2 separate regions of the Homo sapiens genome follow, and region 1 is linked to region 2. The links are contacts of gene promoters, found by promoter capture Hi-C in blood cells and fetal thymus (Javierre and others, 2016). All regions are on one chromosome and are shown on one strand. Each heading gives the region's core, a stretch centred on a gene start or on the middle of the fragment in contact. The rest is flanking DNA. Distances are from core to core; before and after follow the strand shown.

Region 1 (4,161 bases), core at 903-3,402, 270 kb after region 2:
ACTCAAGGCACCTGCCTCCCACACCAACCCAGGCCCAGGTAGAAAGTTCTGCGTTTCTCCCATGGTCTCCTGCCTCCTGCCATCCCTCCTGGACACTGCTCTTCTTTCTGCCTCCCCCACCACTCGCCCATCCTCCCCACCCACCTGGAAAGCCTTCCTCTCTGCCTAAGCCTTCTGGTGCTACTTTGCTGGGGCCACTCCCCTCTATTGAGAGGTGTGCCCTGTTTGGTGTGCTGTGGGTGTGGCTGGCTCCCATTAAGTCCTGAAACTCCTCCAGGACAGAGACCGGGTCCTGCTTAACTTGGACCCCCCAAACCTAGTGCAGATGTGACATTCACCCAGTGATTGCCCACTGACTCTGGCATCTTTTGGGAAATTTTCAGCACCAGAGCTGTGGACAGAGACCCTTCCCATTAAACTCTTTCCGGGCTGGCTGGGGAGGAGACTCCCGATGATCTTTATCTTTCCCTCCTAAGCTCCCCCACCCAAATTGAGCAAGGCTGGGGCTCACCGGGATGTCTCCCTGCTCCATATATCCCAACTGTAACTGCTCTACTTCACCTTCCCCAAAACCTGCACCCTCTCCTCCAGCCCCCAAGCAGGGTAGATTAATGATCAAGTGCTCAGATTCCAGCACTTATTACCTCTGTCATCTTAGACTACTGAGACTACTACAGAGAGCTACTTAGACTCTGTGCCTGAGTGTTGTCATCTGCAAAACTGATATACAACTATGGAATAGTAGCTGGTGCATAGTAGATGCTCAATAAAGACTTCCGGAACGAGGCTGGCTGCAGTGGCTCACGCCTGTAATTCCAGCACTTTGGGAGGCTGAGGTGAGCGGATCCCTTGAGCCCAGGAGTTGGAGACCAGCCTGGGGAACATGGCAAAACCCTGTCTCTACAAAAAATACCAAACAATTAGCCAGGTGTAGTGGCATGCACCTGTAGTCCCAGCTACTCGGGAGGCTGATGTGGGAGGATTGCTTCAGCCTGGGAGGCTGAGGCTGCAGTGAGCTGTGATCGCCACAGTGAACTCCAGCCTGAGGGACAGAGTTAGACCCTGTCTCAAAAAAAAAAAAAAAAAAAGGGTGGGGGGGTGATGAATGCCGAATAGGGGCTTTGTCAGAATGACATGATTTAATACATGCACGAAGCACGGGCAGAGAGTAATGCCGGCAATGCCTGGCACCTGGAAAACTCAGTGTTGGCTATCTCTGCATTTCCTTCCAGTTCTTTTGAGGTCCTGGAGAGCTGGGAAGGGTCGGGATTACTGGTGAAATTTCAAGGGTGAATTTTATTCAGACTGGAGGCCTGGAGGGGACACTGGGGGACAAGGTTCCAGGTTCCCTTCCTCTGGGGTCTTTGCCCTGACAGTATCCCCCGTCTCCCACCCTGAAGTCCAGCCCTCCAAAGGCCGCTGGCGTGAGCCTTCAAAGGAGCGAATTTGGTCCCGGGCTGGGCAGGGGGCAGGAGTGGGCATTTAGGGGTCTCGGGCAGAAGGCTGGGGCAAGGGCACCTGGAACTGACAAGCAGTACTCTGCCGCCCCCTGGCACGCCCCTGGGCGCGACGCCAGTCCAAGGGAGGGCCGGGACACTGGACTGGTTTGTGGGTCTCGGCTGGATTGGCGATGAAAGCCGCGGAGCCGTCGGGCCCGGCGCCCGGCCCAGCAGCGCAGGGCCGGCTCCGAGGAGGCTGCTGAGTGCGGGCGCCCTCGGGATTTCCTTCCGAGCCATTTTAGGGACTGCGGGGCCGGGGCAGCCGCTTCCTGCGTGCCCCAGACCGGGCGTCCAGACAGCCCCAACCAACCTCACACCCCAGGCCTCCGCGCTTTCTGCTGTGTGGACCCGGCCGGGAGGAGTCGCGCCCTGAGGCCCTCTGTGCTCCCCGGGTCCACGGAAAGGAGTAGGGGCGCGGAGCGCGGGTTGCGGGGCGGGTGGAGGGGCCGGCCTCAGATTAAAGGGAGTTCACCTCTCCACAGTCACCCCGCTTTCCCGTTCCAATCCCTGCAGCCCCTACTTGTGAACCCCCCTTTTGGGGGGGTGGGTAGTATGTGCCAGTGTCTGGGGTGCGCAAGCTGGGAAAGTTCCGCCGGCGCTCCGGGCTTACCTGAGGCCGGGAGAGGCATCGCCGTGGGCTAACCACCGACTGCGGGCGCTGAGCGGATCGTCCGTCCAGGTGAGACCGATGCCCGCGACGCCCTCCCCCAGCGGGACTGCGCAGCCGCCGCTCGGGCTCCGCGGCCCATCGATTTTTCTGTTGACTTTGGAAATCTCATTAATCCCTCGTTAATTACCCTCCCGGGGGCTCGGACCCAGAGGGTGCAGCCAATTGCGAGGCAGCTGGACAAGCGGGCGGGGCTGAGGGCTGTGCAGGCGCGGGCCTGCAGGGTCTCCAACTCGCAGCCCGCCCTCGGATGGGGTGGAGAGGGGTGCAGTGTTCTTAGGTCCGCAGTAAAGAGCTTGCGGAATTCAGGCCTCGTTTTCCTTTGGTGATCAAGCTGGGAATGGACGCCCTCCCTCCAGGCCTGGAGTCGCTTTTTCCTGTACCCTACCTAGCCCCAGGCCTGGAGGCCGCCTAGCAGGACCCTGTGTTTCCCTTAAGTCAAACCTGAACTTGGTGGGGAGAGTTGGAGCACAGCCCCATTCTGACAGGGGAGGAGGCCTCCTCAGCTCCACCTGCGGCCTCTGAGAACTACTCACCTCCTTCTGCTGACAGGGTCCAGGCACACTTTCCTCAAAGTCCCCTGAGCTCCCAGTGCTGCTGTTCCCATGATCTCCCCCAAATGCCATCTGCTCCATGGGTCCCGCCCAGCCCTCCCTCTCCCAGCCCTTCCCCTCCCTCTGCCTCTGCATGCTCACCACCACCTTTCACTCTTCTAACTGTGGAGCCTCCTTCCCATCTCTCTGCTGTCTTCCCTCCTAAGCATCTCTATACCCTTTGTAGAGTAGAAACCCTAGGGCTTAGGGGAAACTCCTCGGGGACCTCCTGGGGCAGGGGGAAGTCAAGTGGTGAGGATCTGAGACTCCCAACTCCTTTTAAATTAGAACTGCCTTGTTTATATCTTTTTTGTTTGTTTGTTTTTGTTTTTGTTTTAGACAGGCTGGAGTGCAGTGGCATGATCTCGGCTCACTGCAACCTTTGCCTCCTGGGTTCAAGTGATTCTCCTGCCTCAGCCTCCTGAGTAGCTGGGATTACAGGCGCACGCCACCATGCCCGGCTACTTTTTGTATTTTTTAGTAGAAACAGAGTTTCGCCATGTTGGCCAGGCTGGTCTCGAACTCCTGACCTCAAGTGATCTGCCTGCCTCGGCCTCCCAAAGTGCTGGGATTACAAGCGTGAGGCACTGCACACAGCCTATATCTATGTTATAAACTTGTGTTCCTGTAATATTTTATTTGAAGGGAAAAATGTTCTGCTTGAAAACAAAGTTTGAAAATTATTGTTCTTAGCAGAAAGGCTCTGGATTTTTTGCAGGTGTGTGACCTTGGGCAAGTCACTTTACCTCTCTGGGCCTCAGCTTCCTTCTTTGTAAAATGCAGACATTAGACTAGGTCACTGCTTCCTAAACTTTCTTCTGTCATGGGACACACACAAAGAAAATGATTAGGTTGAGTGCTGTGGCTCATGCCTGTAATCCCAGCACTTTGGGAGGCTGAGGGGGGAGGATCACTTGAGCCCAGGAGTTCAAGACCAGACTGGGCAACACAATGAGACCCTCATCTCCACACACACACACACACACACACACACACACACAATTTAGCCAGGCGTGGTGGCAGTAGTAGCTGTAGTTCCAGCTACTCAGGAGGCTGAAGTGGGGGGGTCTCTTGAGTCCAGGAGGTTAAGGTTGCAGTGATCTATCTGCACTCCAGCCTGGGCAAAAAGGTGAGACACTCTCTCAAAAAAAAAAAAAAAAAAAGATTATATGTATATGCCACCTGGAGATAAAGGGAAGAGGAAGATGGCAGTTTGGGAACTCCAGTTACCCACCCTGTAGCTAGTCTGTCATTTGGATTTTGCTCACACACTGCAAAACTTGAGACCTGAAAATCTCCAGGGGCCCTTCCCGCTCTGACTCCCAAGATCCTCTCCTGTGACCACCTCAGACGGGACAACAGAGACAAACAGTGGGGATGGGGGCAAATCACAGGTTTATTG
Region 2 (4,319 bases), core at 44-2,543:
ACTTTGGGAGGCCGAGGTGGGCGGATCACGAGGTCAGGAGATTGAGACCATCCTGGCCAACACGGTGAAACCCCGTCTCTACTAAAAATACAAAAAAGTACAAAAAATTAGCCGGGCGTGGTGGCGGGCACCTGTAGTCCCAGCTACTCAGGAGGCTGAGGCAGGAGAATGGTGTGAACCCGGGAGGCGGAGGTTACAGTGAGCCGAGACCGCGCCACTGCACTCCAGCCTGGGAGACAGAGCGAGACTCCGTCTAAAAAATAACAGTAATAATAACCATAATCCCTCTACCTACCCTGAGATGAATGCATACATAAAATTTTCCTCTGCTCCCTCTTTTCACAGGTAAAATGCAGATTTACTGAGGCTAATCACCGACTCACAAGAATGTAATCATTTGCCTCCTCACTGCCTAACCTCCCTTTTTTGCCCCTCCTGCTAGCTCCTTCCTCTTTAACTAGTGATGTTCCCAAAACCATCTTTGGAAAAAGCACAGGTCTCAGATCCTCCTGTGACCTGTGCTTTTTCCCGGTTGGATCCTCAACCTTAGCTAATTAAACCTTTATCGGTTGAGACCTGCCTCAGTCACTTCTGGTTAACAAGAGGGAAAACAAGAGCAATCCAACTAGCAGAAACGGTAGGTATCTCGTACATAAAGCGCGTGAATTTTTTTTATACACATCACAGATCATCCACAGTTGACATACTGTCTTCAAAGTTCAAATGGAATTGAATGCACAGCGATAAAACAGGAATAGTCTCCTGAGATAATACGTTGAATAAACCTTAGGCCACACAGGCAGAAGCTCAATGTGCCGCGATGCAGAGCTTAATACGGCTGGAATAAAAATATAAATTCCTCTGCTTGGGCTGAACCCACTCTAATGCCCAAGAGGAAAAGCAAGGGAAGTAAAAAGGCCAGGAACACAAAGGAAGGAAAGGGACGGAGTGGGACCTTCGAGGCCGGGGTTTGTGACTGGTGGCAGAAACCCCGCGACCACTGCGACCCTAGGGCGGGCACCTCGTTAACACTGCGACCTCCGGAAAAGTGGCAACTGAGTCGAGGGAAGGGGACGAGCGCCTCGCGACCACTAGGGAAGCAGACAAGCCTGAAGTAACTAAGCAGACGCAGTTCTCAACCCGCAAGGACGAGCAAGCCTGTTCGGGGTACCCTTACAGTGACTGTTGGCTCGCCATCGAGCTCCTCCATAGCGCCGAACCCCAGGCTCCTAGAAGTCGCTCGGACGCCAATGCTTCCCGCTCAGGCCTCCCGCTCAGAGCTGGCTGCGAGACAAGACTCCGCCTGGGCGTCTCCTGCAGCGCCTGCAAGCCCAAACCCTCAGTGCTGCGGCGCTGTCTCCTCTCAGCCACGGCCACCCCTCTGCGGTCCTCTGCACGCGTCCTTCCTTCCTGGCGTCGACAGCAAATCAGGGAAAACAGCGCCGAGGACTGACTGCACTCAGAGTACCGCGCTAACAGGATCAGGCGGCGCCGGGGACACCCTGGTGCCGAGCGGAGAAAAGGCCCCCGGAGACGGCGGGAGGGGCAGGAGGACCCCGGGGCTGGAGACGGTGCGAATGCGCGTGCGTAGGCTGGGGCGGCGGCACTTGGGTGGGAACTCGTGCGGGATTTAGGTCCCAGTAAGCGTACAACGTCTCCCAACTCTGGGAGTCCTCGCTACATCCCGGTCTCCACCTTAGTGTCGTCGCAGCCACTTGTCCAAACCCCGACAGTCAAACGGGCTTGTGCTGGAAAGCAATCGCCTCCACTTCCACACTAGAACACACACAAGAGGCACGGGAACAAAATCGATACCCCTGAAGGCCCGGCGCTGTGGCTCAAGCCTCTAATCCCAACACTTTGGCAGCCCAAGGTGGGTGGATCACTGGAGTTCAGGAGTTCAAGACCAGTCTGGCCAATATGATGAAACCTCGTCTCTACTAAAAATATAAAAAATTAGACGGGCGTGGTGGCGGACACCTGTAATTCCAGCTACTCGGAAGGCTGAGGCAAGAGAATTGTTCCAACCCGGGAGGTGGAGGTTGCATTGAGCCAAGATCGCACCACTGCACTCCAGCCTGGGAGACAGAGCGAGACTCCGTCTCAAAAAAAAAAAAAAAAATTAGCTGTGCTTGGTAGCGCGCGCCTGTAATCCCAGCACTCCGGGACGCCGAGGTGGTTGGATCACCTGAGGTCAGGAGTTCAAGACCAGCCTGGACAACATGGCGAAACCCCGTCTCTACTGAAAATACAAAAATTAGCCGGGAGTGGTGGCGGACACCTGTAATCCCAGCTACTCGTAAGGCTGAGGCAGGAGAATTGTTCCAACCCGGGAGGCGGAGGTTGCAGTGAGCCAAGATCGCGCCACTGCACTCCATCCTGGGCGACAGACGGAGACTCCGTCTCAAAAAAAAAAAAATTATTTTGCTGAGTCTCAAAAAAAAATTATTTTGCTCTTTTTCTCTTAATAAGTTTCCGTTATACCTCAAGTTGGAGTTATCGCCTGTGTAATTGAAAACTTTTCCAGAGTTAAATACAGTTTGAGAGTTAACCACTCTAGAGAGAGGAAGGGGAAAAGAGAGGGGAAGGAGCCACACTCTTTTAGAGAGAGGGGAGGAGAGGAAAGAGAAAAATAAGTTGTAAGATAATTGTTTCATTTTTCCAACCGTTTTCCATTAGGATTAACTGAAAAAGAAGGATACATAAACTACTTCATCAAAACCTTATTCTTAGAAATCTATAGAAAGGTTGAGGAAGGAAAAGGTCCATATATAGTATGCGTAATCAGTATATAGAACAAGGATAGGCCGGGCGCGGTGGCTCACGCCTGTAATCTCAGCGCTTTGGGAGGCCGAGGCGGGTGGATCACCAGGTCAGGAGAGAGAGACCATCCTGGCTAACACGGTGAAACCCCATCTCTACTAAAAATACAAAAAAAAAAAAAAAAAAAAAAAAAAATCAGCCGGGCGTGGTGGCGGGTGCCTGTAGTCCCAGCTCCTCGGGAGGCTGAGACAGGAGAATGGCGTGAACCGGGGAGGCGGAGCTTGCAGTGAACCGAGATTGCACCGCTGCACTCCAGCCTGGGCGACAGAGCGAGACTCCGTCTCAAAAAAAAAAAAGAACAAGGATAGCACTATTAGCTGTAGTTTTCCTTTTTCGCCCTTGTATTACTAAGCCTATTTGAATGATTGGGTAAAATGGTTGGTATATAGCAGTATTAGACCAAAGAATATTGCCAATACTTTTTCCTCAATGTTATCTAGCTCTTGGTCAGGCAATTTAACTACTTTTATTATCTTAAATGGCATTTTGTCAGCCTTAAAATAAAAATAATCAAGGAAATATAGCACTAAGATCTAACAAGCTCTCTCTCTCTTTTTTTTTTCTTTGTCTTTTTTTTTTTTTTTTTTTTTTTGTCTTTTTGAGACAGAGTCTTGCTCTGTCGCCAGGCTGGAGTGGAGTGGCACGATCTCGGCTTACTGCAACCTCCGTCTCCCGGGTTCAAGCGATTCTGCTGCCTAAGCCTCCCGAGCAGCTGGGACTACAGGCACACGCCACTACGCCGGGCTAATTTTTTATTTTTTAGTAGAGACGGGGTTTCGCCATATTGGTCAGGCTGGACTCGAACGCCTGACCTCAGGTGATCCACCCGCCTCAGACTCCCAAAGTGCTAGGGTTACAGGCATGAGCCACCGCACCCAGCCTGGTAAAGTCTTAAGTGGATACATTTCATGCAGCCTAATAAAACTAATGCTCCTGAACCGGGCACAGTGTACATTATTTAACAAAATCTCTGGCCTCAGCCTGGGCAACAGGGCAAGAGCAAGATGCTGTCTCAAAAAATAAAAAATAAAAAAAGGCCGGGCGCGGTGGCTCACGCCTATAATCCCAACACTTCGGGAGGCCGAGGCGGGCGGATTACCTGAGCTCAGGAGTTCAAGACCAGCCTGGGCAACAAGATGAAACCCCGTCTCCACTAAAATACAAAAAATTATTTGGTCATGGCGGTTGTGCGCCTGTAGTCCCAGCTACTGAGGCTGAGGCAGGAGAATCGTTTGAACCCTGGAGGCGGAGGTTGCAGTGAGCCAAGATCATACCACTGCACTCCAGCCCGGACGACAGTGTAAGACTCCCTCTCAAAAAAAAAAAAAAAAAAAAAAAAAAAAAAAAAAAAAAAAACTCTAGCTGGAACTAGTGGCACATACCTGTAGCCCTAGCTACAGCAAGAGGAAGGAGACTGAGGCCAGAGGATTTCTTGAGCCCAGGAGTTCAAGTCAAGGCTGCAGTGAACTACGATTGTTATAGCACTATACTCCAGC

The links. The method cuts DNA at HindIII sites, captures the fragments that hold promoters and counts their contacts. A CHiCAGO score of 5 or more calls a contact.
Region 1: a contact is called between the fragment with the promoter of OTOP3 here and the fragment with the promoter of NUP85 in region 2, in 2 of 17 cell types (neutrophils and non-activated CD4 T cells). The highest score is 8.0, in neutrophils.

The regions. Positions count from the first base shown.
Region 1 is chr17:74,933,889-74,938,049 of GRCh38, reverse strand. OTOP3 (otopetrin 3) reads right to left here and starts at 2,152. Exons shown (of 7, transcript NM_001272005.2): 1 at 2,110-2,152. The coding sequence starts at 2,128. It overlaps OTOP2 (otopetrin 2), which reads right to left. Exons shown (of 7, transcript NM_178160.3): 7 at 4,138-4,161. The HindIII fragment of the contact is 16,590 bases long and covers 1-4,161 here.
Region 2 is chr17:75,202,653-75,206,971 of GRCh38, reverse strand. It overlaps NUP85 (nucleoporin 85), which reads right to left and starts at 1,293. Exons shown (of 19, transcript NM_024844.5): 1 at 1,178-1,293. The coding sequence starts at 1,210. RefSeq lists enhancers at 1,282-1,461, 620-1,553, 1,554-2,488. The HindIII fragment of the contact is 9,089 bases long and covers 1-4,319 here.